4 separate regions of the Homo sapiens genome follow, and all the other regions are linked to region 1. Evidence: promoter capture Hi-C in 16 types of primary human blood cells and fetal thymus (Javierre and others, 2016). All regions are on one chromosome and are shown on one strand. The core of a region is centred on a gene start or on the middle of the fragment in contact, and the rest is flanking DNA. Distances in the headings are between cores, read along the strand shown. Region 1 holds the start of RAD1 (RAD1 checkpoint DNA exonuclease). Region 2 has its middle 180 kb from the start of RAI14-DT. Region 3 has its middle 130 kb from the start of RAI14-DT. Region 4 holds the start of RAI14 (retinoic acid induced 14).

What was found. Contacts are between HindIII fragments. The CHiCAGO score rates a contact against its expected background, and 5 or more counts as called.
Region 2: a contact is called between a fragment that was not itself captured here and the fragment with the promoter of RAD1 in region 1, in 1 of 17 cell types (M2 macrophages). The highest score is 5.0, in M2 macrophages.
Region 3: a fragment that was not itself captured here is called in contact with the fragment with the promoter of RAD1 in region 1 in 7 of 17 cell types (erythroblasts, total B cells, M1 macrophages and 4 more); the score reaches 10.7 in erythroblasts.
Region 4: the fragment with the promoter of RAI14 here is called in contact with the fragment with the promoter of RAD1 in region 1 in 2 of 17 cell types (M2 macrophages and total B cells); the score reaches 6.1 in M2 macrophages.

The regions. Positions count from the first base shown.
Region 1 is chr5:34,914,161-34,916,850 of GRCh38, forward strand. It overlaps RAD1 (RAD1 checkpoint DNA exonuclease), which reads right to left and starts at 1,344. Exons shown (of 6, transcript NM_002853.4): 1 at 1,256-1,344; 2 at 535-801. The coding sequence starts at 732. BRIX1 (biogenesis of ribosomes BRX1) reads left to right here and starts at 1,551. Exons shown (of 10, transcript NM_018321.4): 1 at 1,551-1,737. The coding sequence starts at 1,579. It also overlaps a transcript of TTC23L not described here. RefSeq lists enhancers at 928-1,533, 980-1,039, 1,060-1,959, 1,534-2,139. The HindIII fragment of the contact is 14,569 bases long and covers 1-2,690 here.
Region 2 is chr5:34,472,621-34,475,310 of GRCh38, forward strand. No RefSeq gene overlaps it. Among named protein-coding and RNA genes, the nearest start is that of RAI14-DT, 180 kb to the right of the region's middle. The HindIII fragment of the contact is 2,458 bases long and covers 113-2,570 here.
Region 3 is chr5:34,521,986-34,524,675 of GRCh38, forward strand. No RefSeq gene overlaps it. Among named protein-coding and RNA genes, the nearest start is that of RAI14-DT, 130 kb to the right of the region's middle. RefSeq lists an enhancer at 1,046-1,569. The HindIII fragment of the contact is 837 bases long and covers 919-1,755 here.
Region 4 is chr5:34,654,950-34,657,639 of GRCh38, forward strand. It overlaps RAI14 (retinoic acid induced 14), which reads left to right and starts at 1,379. Exons shown (of 18, transcript NM_015577.3): 1 at 1,379-1,526. RAI14-DT (RAI14 divergent transcript) reads right to left here and starts at 1,224. Exons shown (of 3, transcript NR_183264.1): 1 at 1,044-1,224. RefSeq lists a silencer at 1,337-1,386. The HindIII fragment of the contact is 8,769 bases long and covers 405-2,690 here.

The DNA.
Region 1 (2,690 bases), core at 94-2,593:
AAATTCTATTACAACCAGTAAAGGAAAAAAATACTCTTTAGTAATAGCATATCGCAGTGGAAAAAAGAGCATATATTCTGGAAACAAATATTCAGCGTTCTTATCCCAATTCAGCCACTTACCAGCTGTGGGACTGTTGGCAAATCACTTAAAATTGTGCCTCGTTTCCACATATATAAAACGGGAATAATAACAGAACCTACCTTACAGGACTATTGTTAAGATTAAATAAGTTAAACAATAAGAAGACTGTAGCCTAGCCAATAGCCTAGTTTAATAAACTTTAGTCATTACTAACCATTATCTCTGTAAAACAAGATGGGAAAAGAATTTGTTACCGGGAGAGAAAAAAAATTCAAGTAATGACGTTTTGTTCTCTAACTTAAGACTATTATTTATTTATTAAGTTATTTATTATGACTATTGACAAGTTATTATGACTATTAAGTTATTTTGTCTACTGAAACCTTCCGATTTCATTAAATTACATTTAGAGTATCTATGGCACAGGCTTAAAGGCGCCTACTTCCATACCTGAATAAAAGCATTTGCTTGCACACACTTTGCATTTTCCACTGTTACTTTGATACCATTTTTAGTTGCGAAACACGTGGCATGTTCTCGGAAATGAATAGCTTTCAAGATAGTGGAGAGATTCCTAACGTTGTCAAGGCTGGCCACAAGGCTGTACTGATCATCCTCGTCTTGGATCTGTTGGGTCAGAAGGGGCATCGTCCACTGCGCATTCGGCCCCGAGGGATGCTCCTGGGGCCAACAACTTCTCGGCGGATCGCCAAACACCTGAAGGGATTAGACAGTAAAACTCCCATCAGTGCTGGCGAGGTCCGGCGAGCTCCACCTGCGCTGAGAGGTGGAAAGGGGCTGGGAGGCTGAACACGGCTGACCAGGCCGAACCCCACCTATGTCACTTAACTATCTTTGTAATTCTGGAGGAAAATTATCTAAGCTACGGTTTCCTCGTCTCCGTAAGAGGACAATAACGTGAAAAGTTGTGAAGAATGAAGACACGCAACTGACACGGTATCTCCCGGCCAAACAGGAGCTACAAATCCGCGGGGAGTCGGTTTTGTGCAGCCCGCGCCACCAGCCCCGCCTCCAACAAAACAGGCGATGGCGGGGCGGGCCCGGAGTGTCCAGATAATCCTCCAAGAGTCCCAGACAACCCCATTCACCAGCCCGCCCGCGGGACAGCATCGCTTACTAGTCTCGGGGTCCCCGAGTGCGGAAACCCTACCTTTGCGGTGGGGTCTGGACGCCCGAGAGCCCTTCTCAGCAAAGTCCCTGAAGAGGAGCGAGGCGGCTCCGAGGAACCGCGGAGGAAGTGAAGCCAGTCCCGCCACTCTTCAGACCGGCCCTCCACCTCGGCCACCGTCACCACAGAGCTGAAGGAGGCCTAGAGAGCCGCGCGTGCCGCGCCACCGAGACCGGAAGGAGGCGGCACAGACCTGGAGGACGACCGCGGAGCTGAGCGCTTAGAGCCGCCGAACCATAGAGATCGGAAATAGGAGCGAGCGGCAGCGCCGGAAAGGAGGCCAAGAGCGCGGGCGGCGAGGCAAGATGGCGGCAACCAAGAGGAAACGGCGTGGAGGCTTTGCAGTTCAGGCGAAGAAGCCAAAAAGAAACGAAATAGATGCGGAGCCGCCAGCTAAGCGGCACGCCACAGCAGAGGAGGTGGAGGAAGAAGAGAGGGACCGGATCCCAGGCCCCGTTTGCAAGGTAGGAGGGGATGTCCCCGGGCTACACCTGCGGCGGCGGCTCTGTGCGCCTTTTCTTGGGTTACTTACTTGACTACAGCCTTGCTTAATTTCAGAGTAGCCCGGGTGTTAACGGTAGGTCGGTTTTAGCAATTCTCCCGGCCAGACTGGGCACGGAGTTTGCAGCTAATCCTTGTGCACGTGGCCGTCTTCCTGGAGGCGGCGGGTTTTAAAACCTTTACCCGGCCCACGGGGAAGCGACTTACAGGGTGCTCAGATCCAGCGTTCTTTCTTACTAGTTGTTCAGTTGTTTTTTTTTTTTAATGTTTTTGGAGAGTAGTGCTTTTCCTTGGTTATTTCTCGCTATTATTTCTCCAGTGATTAGTATGCCCATATACTGCCATAGTCAGCCACTCTCAGTCAGGGATCCTGAAGTACGTTAGGGGAGCCTTTAAAAAGTTGTTGCCCTTGGGACTGTGACTCTGACTTGTTAACCAGGTCATTAACTCAAGAGATACTGAAAAATAGACTAGGTAGTATGAGCTTTACTTGTATTCAACAGACATTGAATGTGCCATGCACTGTACCAAGTTAGGCTTCCTTTGGGTTTGAGATTGCAAAGATGACTAGAATGTGACCTCTTCCTCCTGAAATGTTGGAGTTTAGGAGGAAACTTAAGAATTCAAATAAGTTGATGGTTTTTATTCAAAAGAAGTGCACACAAGTTGTTAGAATTAGCTTTCATTCAACTAAGAACTCTTCTTAAGCTAGACAGAATACTGTGAACAAGGATTATCTTTGACATTAATTTTTGCGTCCTCCGCACTTAGCATAGTACTCTAGCGCGGAGTAGGTGATAAGTAAATGACCCCGTGTGGTGTGATGGCAAGCTCTAAGAAAGAAGTGAGCTCTGTGGAATGAAAGATAAGTGTAAATTCTAGCCCCGTTATTAACAGCAACATTCTGTGCTCTTTT
Region 2 (2,690 bases), core at 92-2,591, 440 kb before region 1:
ACCTGGCAGAGACACAACAAAAAAAGAAAATTTCAGGCCAATATCCCTGATGAACACGATGCAAAAATCCTCAATAAAATACTGGCAAACCGAATCCAGCAGAACATCAAAAAGCTTATCCACCATGATCAAGTCGACTTCATCCCTGGGATGCAAGGCTGGCTCAACATATGAAAATCAATAAACATTATCCATCACATAAACAGAACCAATGACAAAAAACACATGATTATCTTAATAGATGCAGAAAAAGCCTTTGACAAAATTCAACACCCCTTCATGCTAAAAACTCTCAATAAATTAGGCACTGATGGAACGCATCTTAAAATAATAACAGCTATTTATGACAAACCCACAGCCTATATCATACTGAATGGGCAAAAGCTGGAAGCATTCCCTTTGAAAACCAGCACAAGACAAGGATGCCCTCTCTCACCACCCCTTTTCAACATAGTGTTGGAAGTTCTGGCCAGAGCAATCAGTCAACAGAAAGAAATAAAGCGTATCAAATAGGAAGAGAGGAAGTCAAATTGTCTCCGTTTGCAGATGACATGATTGTATATTTAGAAAACCCCATCTTCTCAGCCTAAAAACTTAAGCTGATGAACAACTTCAGCAAAGTCTCAGGATACAAAATCAATGAGCAAAAATCACAAGCATTCCTATACACCAATAACAGACAAACAGAGAGTCAAATCATGAGTGAACTCCCATTCACAATTGCTTCAAAGAGAATAAAATACCTAGGAATACAACTTACAAGGGATGTGAAGGACCTCTTCAAGGAGAACTACAAACCACTGCTCAAGAAAATAAGAGAGAATACAAACAAATGGAAAAAGAATTCCATGTTCATAGATAGGAAGACTCAATATAATGAAAATGGCCATACTGCCCAAAGTAATTTATAGATTCAATGCTATTCCCATCAAGCTACTATTGACTTTCTTCACAGAACTAGATAAAACTGCTTTAAACTTCATATGGAACCAAAAAAGAGCCTGTATAGCCAAGACAATCCTAAGCAAAAAGAACAAAGCTGGAGGCATCATGCTACCTGACTTCAAACTATACTACAAGGCTACAGTAGCCAAAACAGCAACTGGTACTGGTACCAAAACAGAGATGTAGACCAATGGAACAAAACGGAGGCCTCAGAAATAACACCACACATCTACAATTGAGGGACATTCTGGCTATTACTCCTCAAAACTGGCTAAATACCTGGCTATTACTCCTCAAAACTGCTGTCATGAAATCTCTCACAGACTAGAGGAAACTGAGGGAACATGAGGACAGAATGAGATGTGCTGTCCTGAGTGGGATCCTGGAACAGAAAAAGGACATTAGTTGAAAAACTAGTGATATTAAAATACAGTCTGGATTTTGACAATAATGTGGAAATGCTAGTCTCTTAGTTTTGACAAACGTATCATGGTAATGTGAGATTTTAACCTAGAGGAACCTGGGTGAGGTGTGTATGGGAACTCTGTATCACTTTATAACTTTATTTATTTATTATTCATTTATTAATTTTTTTTTGAGACAGAGTCTCACTCTGTTGCCCAGGCTGGAGTGGAGTGGCATGATCTCGGCTCACTGCAACTTCTGTCTCCCAGGTTCCAGCGATTCTCATGCCTCAGCTTCCCAAGTAGCTGGGATTACAGGCCTGGGCTACCACACCCGGTTAATTTATTGTATTTTTAGTAGAGATGGGGTTTCACCATGTTGGCCAGGCTCGAACTCCTGACCTCAGGTGATCTGCCCGCCTCGGCCTCCCAAAGTGCTGGGATACAGGCGTGAGCCACTGCGCCTGGCCACTTTACAACTTTAACATAAATCTAAAATTATTCTGAAATTTAATAAAATTACAATGCTACCCTGTTGCTTCACCTCCCAAATTCTAGCCCGTTTTAGAACTGTTTGTAGGCTGTAGAATCTCTCATATCTGCATTATATTATGTACTATATTTCTGCTATATTGAATTTCTCCGGAGAAGAGCAAAATACAGAATACCAAACCTCTCAAAGCTGTGTGCAAGTGCTGTTACATAGTATGACCACTAGATGGAGATCGTGTCCAGGTGGCTAAAACTTAGGCTTCCTTGACCAAGCAATGTCTTGGAGCAGAGTTCACAACCAAATCTCTTTTCTGAAATAATGCAATAGGCATGAATCTCAAGTCTCCAGATTCTAGGATGTAAGAAATACTAAAGGTCTTTGTTTTCTATAAATCCGCTTGTGTACTACTTCAGGAGCCAAAGAAAATGAAACTTCCGTCCTTCTTGGGGCAATTCTCTCTTCCATTTAACCCCAGGGAAATGAAAGGTGTCAATGTTCAGGGTTTTACCAATGAACTAGGAGCCCCTGCTGGCACTGGTTACCTGTTCTCAATGAGGACCACTGAGATGCTGAGACAGGAGATAGAAAGAAATTATTTAGGCAGATAGTGAGGGTAAAAAAGTCCTCAGCAAGGCTTCCCTTTTAACAAAAAGCAGCCCAAGAAAGCATTTTTTTCTAACAAAGAGCAGCCTGAAAATCTAGCTGCGAACATAGATAAGCAAGCTGGAAGCTTGCACGGGTGAATGCCGGCAGCTATGCCAATAGAAAAGGGCTACCTGGAAGCCAGGTATGTTCAACATGGAGGCTCCATCTTCCCTTTTCTTTGTCACCACGTGTACAGTAAAGAA
Region 3 (2,690 bases), core at 87-2,586, 390 kb before region 1:
AGGATCCAAGGCTCAGACCAGGGCAGAGAGGAGGTTAGAGCAGGTCCAGTTGTGGTGAAGGAGGGGCGTGGCAAATAGTTTCATCTTTGTGCTTTGTCAACACAAAGACTAAACTAGGTCTGGGTGCGGTGGCTCATGCCTGTGATCCCAGCACTTTGGGAGGCCAAGGCGTGGATCACCTGAGGTCAGGAGTTCAGACCAGCTTGGCCAACACATTTTCCACTTATTTTCACCACAAACAGCTGTATTATCAGCATTATTATTTTTGAACTTTGTCAGTCTTGGTAACATAGAAATATTTACTTATAATTCCTTGGTGAAGTAACAGGAGTGTTGCTGTTACCGGAAAGGGGTCTGGATCCAGACCCCAAGCGAGAGTTCTTGAATCTTGTGCAAGAAAGAATTCAGGGCAAGTCCGTAAAGTGAAAGCAAGTTTATTGGGAAAGTGAAGGAATAAAAGAATGGCTACTCCATAGGCAGAGCAGCCCCGAGGGCTGCTGGTTGTCCATTTTTATGGTTATTTCTTGATGATATGCTAAACAAGGGGTGGATTATTCATGCATCCCCTTTTTAGACCTTATCGGGTAACTTCCTGTCATTGCCATGGCATTTATAAACTGTCATGGCGCTGGTGAGAGTGTAGCAGTGAGGATGGCCAGAGGTCACTCTCGCCACCGTCTTGGTTTCGGTGGGTTTTAGTCGGCTTCTTTACTGCAACCTGTTTTATCAGCAAGGTCTTTATGACCTGTACCTTGTGCTGACCTCCTGTCTCATCCTGTGACTTAGAATGCCTAACTGCCTGGGAATGTAGCCCAGCAGGTCTCAGCCTTATTTCACCCAGCCCCTCTTCAAGATGGAGTTGCTCTGGTTCAAAAGCCTCTGACACTATTGTTCTCAGGTTTTCAGTTATCCTTACCAAGCTTTCTTTCAGAAGCCTCTCTCTCAAGACGCCCTTGTGTCTTGTGACGTGAAATAGGAGGAGAGAAAGTGGAAGAAGCTGGGTGGAGAAAATGAAGGCAGGAGCCCTTCTTCTTACCAATAGAACAACTGTGGTTTAAAAAAAAGGAAATGGAATGAGAACTATGGAGGGAATTTTGCAGATAGGTTCTTAGGCTCTCTGGGACTAATGACATGGAGTGAAGGAAAATGTTTGGTCTTAGAGATGGTAAACAGGTGACTTACACAGAACAAAGAGATGTGATAAAAGAGGAAGTGTTAAGGAATTTGAATTGAGTACTGACAAAGACTGGTACTGTTGTCCTTATGCATTGGGCAAAGTGGGCTGCAGAATTGCTCGACCTTCCAGGTGAAGTTAATGTTGGCCGCTAGGTGGCAATCACATGTCTTCAATAACCGAAGACATCGCAGGCCTGAGTAACTGGCCTTCCTGGTGAGTTTCATCAGTCCATCCACTGTCAGAGAATTATAGTTTCAAAGTCTGCTTGGATGCATTTTAATATTAAATCAATTTGTGAGTGCTCATTATGATTCGTCAAAATCATGGCCCCAAGCAGCTACTGTTTTCAAAGTAAGTGATGTGTGGTTTTCCTTCCACTGTTTGGGTGTTTACACTTAGAGCTTCCTCCTACTTCTTCTCCTTAGGAACTTGACACTATTTCTGCCATAGAAATGATGTTCCAGGCAACTATTTCTTACAAAAACAATAAATAGAACAGGTCTTGGGTCTGAAACAATTGGCCAGCTGAGATTTTGTTTTGTATTCATTTGGTTTTCCTGCTTGGTAGATTTAAACAAAGCTTTCCAACATTTTACTTTCGAAGCAAGATTCACACTGAAAAAACCATGTTACAGCACAATGTTGTAGACGCTAATCTATTCTGATGGATGTGTTTTTTATAGGTCTTCATTTGATTTAATATATATTTAAAACTGAGTTTGTCTGCCTGGTGAGAGATGAAGGAAATACAAATATAATCACTTTACAAAATAAATGCCTAAGATGGGGAACACTCAGCATATAGTGTTTATATATATTCACACACCAAGAAATAATCAAATATAATGATGCCAGCATTGATCGTAGATTTTCATAGCCACATATTTCTTGAGTGGTTTGTGCTAGCAAGGGAGACCCAGAGAGTCAGATGCACTCAAGCTTTTGTAATGAGGTGGTGCAGCATCTTCAATCCCCAGGGTATCTCCTATAACTTTCTACAGGATCTGATGCCATGCTAGAGAGTTGCGAAGCTCTGAATAGCTTTGCTTACATAGAGTGTTGGGTGTTTTGAGATTTATTTTGGAAGAGAAAGGAGAGAAGTTTCTCTGAGACATAGCAGGTCATATGTGGCTGAGCCTACAGCAAGGCCAGTGAAAGTGATTATGAGTCACTCATAGCCTAGGAGTGTGTCCCAACAGATATTTCTGATTTGGCCCCAGGCCACCATCAGACTATGTTGTCTTAAGTTGTCATATCTGGTAACTGCAAAAATAAACCATTTTAGTTGTCATATAAGATATTGTCATGTAAGTATTGACCTCTTCAAATGAATAATCATCTCAAGACCTTCAAACAAGAAGTGGTTCTAAGGTTGCATATAAGCATTACATATCGATGAAAACATTGATCACAGACATATTACAGCTGAGTACCAAGTGCTACTGGAGTCACAGCAACATCAGTTCTGGATTATCAATGTTTATGTCCAAAGGGGAGATAAATTGTTGACAAG
Region 4 (2,690 bases), core at 129-2,628, 260 kb before region 1:
TCATGTTTCTTTTACAGTGTGACTTTGTTTGAGAGGGATAAAGGACAGGAAGAGGAGTGTACATCTTGCTTTAGCTGTTCCTCACTTGGCTAAGGAACTTTTGCTGTAGGAAGTGAAGACCCTGCACCTAGTTACAAGGCTTTTGATGCTTGTTTGTCAAGTTCAACTGTTAAAGGGGAGATAGGCTCTTCCCTAGTAGGGAGAGGGAGGAAGGAAAGGGGGATGGGGCGGGGGGAGGGAACAGGTAATATCTGCCATATAAATATTAGTATGTAGCTGACACGTTATAAACTGAGCTGTTAGGGTGAATTTCAATTTTGTTGGAATCGACCTTTTTTCCCTCTTAAGTTCAATTGACTTACAGTAGATCCCAGAAAGAACTCAATACGTTATTTATTCTAGAAAGCTTTCTTCCCTGAGCAAAGGAGGCAGAGCTAACGAGGAGAAGGGAGGAGCTTAGGTGAACAGAACTGAAGTCACAGCTGGTTAGCATGACTAGAATGCATGGAAAAGCCAGCCCAAATTAGATGAGTGGGTAGATAGAGAGCTTTGAAATCCTTGGAATTAATGGTGGAGTCCATCGTAATTGAAAGGTCGGGCCTTAGTGGGCTGGGATAGGGAGAGAAGCTGTCGGGGACCTGGGGCAGTGAGCCTGTACCCCGTGGCTTCTCACACACTATTTTGAAGGCGTTCCCATGCGCAATCTCGCCTGTCAGTTCAGGCTGTAGGTTTCTCCTTTCTAACTCCTGAGCAGAACAACACTGAACGGTGGTAGTCTTGCCTTGCCACCCAATGAGTGCTAGAAAACAGTCACTTCAACCAATTGGTTCAGTCCGGAGAACGTGAGCACATTCTACTTTACTTTCTGTTCAATGATTTTGGAAAACAACCTTTTAGATTCTGGTCAGAAGGGGCTTGGATCCGTGACTTTGAAACACTCGCCACTACCACAAACGACTTTGGAAGTTAATCAGAAATAAACAGTATCTGGGATCTCATCCGTCCTAAACCCAGGGGTCAGAGCGTGGGGGGCTTCCACTAACTTCAGGTTAAGAGGATGAAACAGATCCGCGGAGAAGGGTCCCACGATCCCTGGAGACTAAAAGCAAGCCACGAACAGCCGGGACGCGCGGGCCGGGGAGATGCGCCGGGGGCTGGAGGGCGGAGAGCACCCCCCGCAGGTCCCGGCCAGAGCCCGGGGCCGGGTCACCTGACTCGCGGAATTTGGGGCCGCGAGGGGTGGAATGGGAGGGGAATGGTTAGCGCCTCCCTTCCCGCTCCCACTGGATCCAGGTCGGCGGGGGCCGGCGCCCGGCGGCCACGTGGTGGTGCTGCCGCTGCCCCCGCCCCGCCGGCCTAGCCCGGGAGCTCGGCGCCCACTGACCCCCGCAGCGGGGGAGGAGGAGGGACTGCGGCGCAGGAAGCCGAGCAGGAAGCGAGCCCGGCGGCCGCGTTTTCCTGGGGAAGCGGCGGGCGGGGTGGAGCAGCCAGCTGGGTCCGGGGAGCGCCGCCGCCGCCTCGATGGGGTGAGTGCGCGGCACGGAGTTGGGAGGCTCCCGGCGCGGGGTCCCGGGCTCGTGTCCCCGCCTTTGTGTCTGGAGCTCGGGCGCGGGAGGCGCTGGGGACGGCGCCCGGGCGGAGCGGCTGAGCGGGCTGCAGCCGGGGTCCCGCCACCTCTCCCTGGTCCACCGCCGGCAGCCCACTGTCTGCGGAGAGCAGATCTGGGGACAAGAGGAAGGAGAGGAAGGTGGAGATGAGGGTAGAGCGGGAAGACCCGGCCAAGTTAGGAGAAGGGTTCTTCCCGGGTCCTCCGCGACTCGCAGGCCGGCTGGGGCGGGGCGCGGGGCAGGGGCCGCGGCGGAGGGAGCGCGGGTGGGAATGAATGAGCAGACCCGGAGATGCACCCTGGAGTCTGCGCCGGGTCCCACCTGTTTCGCCCCGCGCGGCGCCTCGCTGCCCCCGCGTCGGTGCTGCTGAGCCCAATCCGCCTCCCGGCTGAACTTGGAGGAGGTGGGGAGGGAGGTGCGAGCGGGAGACTCCGGGTGGCTCCCAGGACGCGGGGTCCGCTATTGTTCCTCCTCTGACTCCAGGGAGCCCCTCGGCCGGCCCAAGGGCGGGGGCGAGACCCCTCTGGGCCTGCCCCTGCCCCCTACCTTGTTTTCCCCGCCGCAGCTCGGGGAGAACGGATGCTGGAGTTGGGGCAGACTCGGGGCCGCCGGGACTTCGGGAGTAAGGAGGACGTGGAGCCACCAGAAAGGCGCCCGCCATCTCCCGCGACCCCTGCCTGGTGGGGGGTGGGGGGTGGGGTGTCGTCCTCAACCACCTTCGCTGCCTTCTTGGGCAGGTTGGTGTCGGTTTAGTTTCTGCGGTTTGCAGGGTTGACATCCTAACTCCTTTGAGTTTCGCATCCCCCTTTTGTGGAGGGGGCTCAGAGCCTGGAGAAGCAACAGACGGGGAATTAAGGCAGATGCAGCCCAGCACAGCGTGGAGGGGTCCGAAGTGGCCTCACGGGGGCCTGAGCATGGCTGTCTTTCCAGGCTCCTCTTTATTTGCCAGGAGCCCAGCTAAGCCCAACTTTACTCCCAGAAATGTTGAGGGGAATCTGCGGACTCGAGGCCCCTCGCCTCGGGACCAGCGGCTTCTCTTCGCCGCAGCTCACGCATGATCGGGGTGGGATTCCGTCTTCCTTC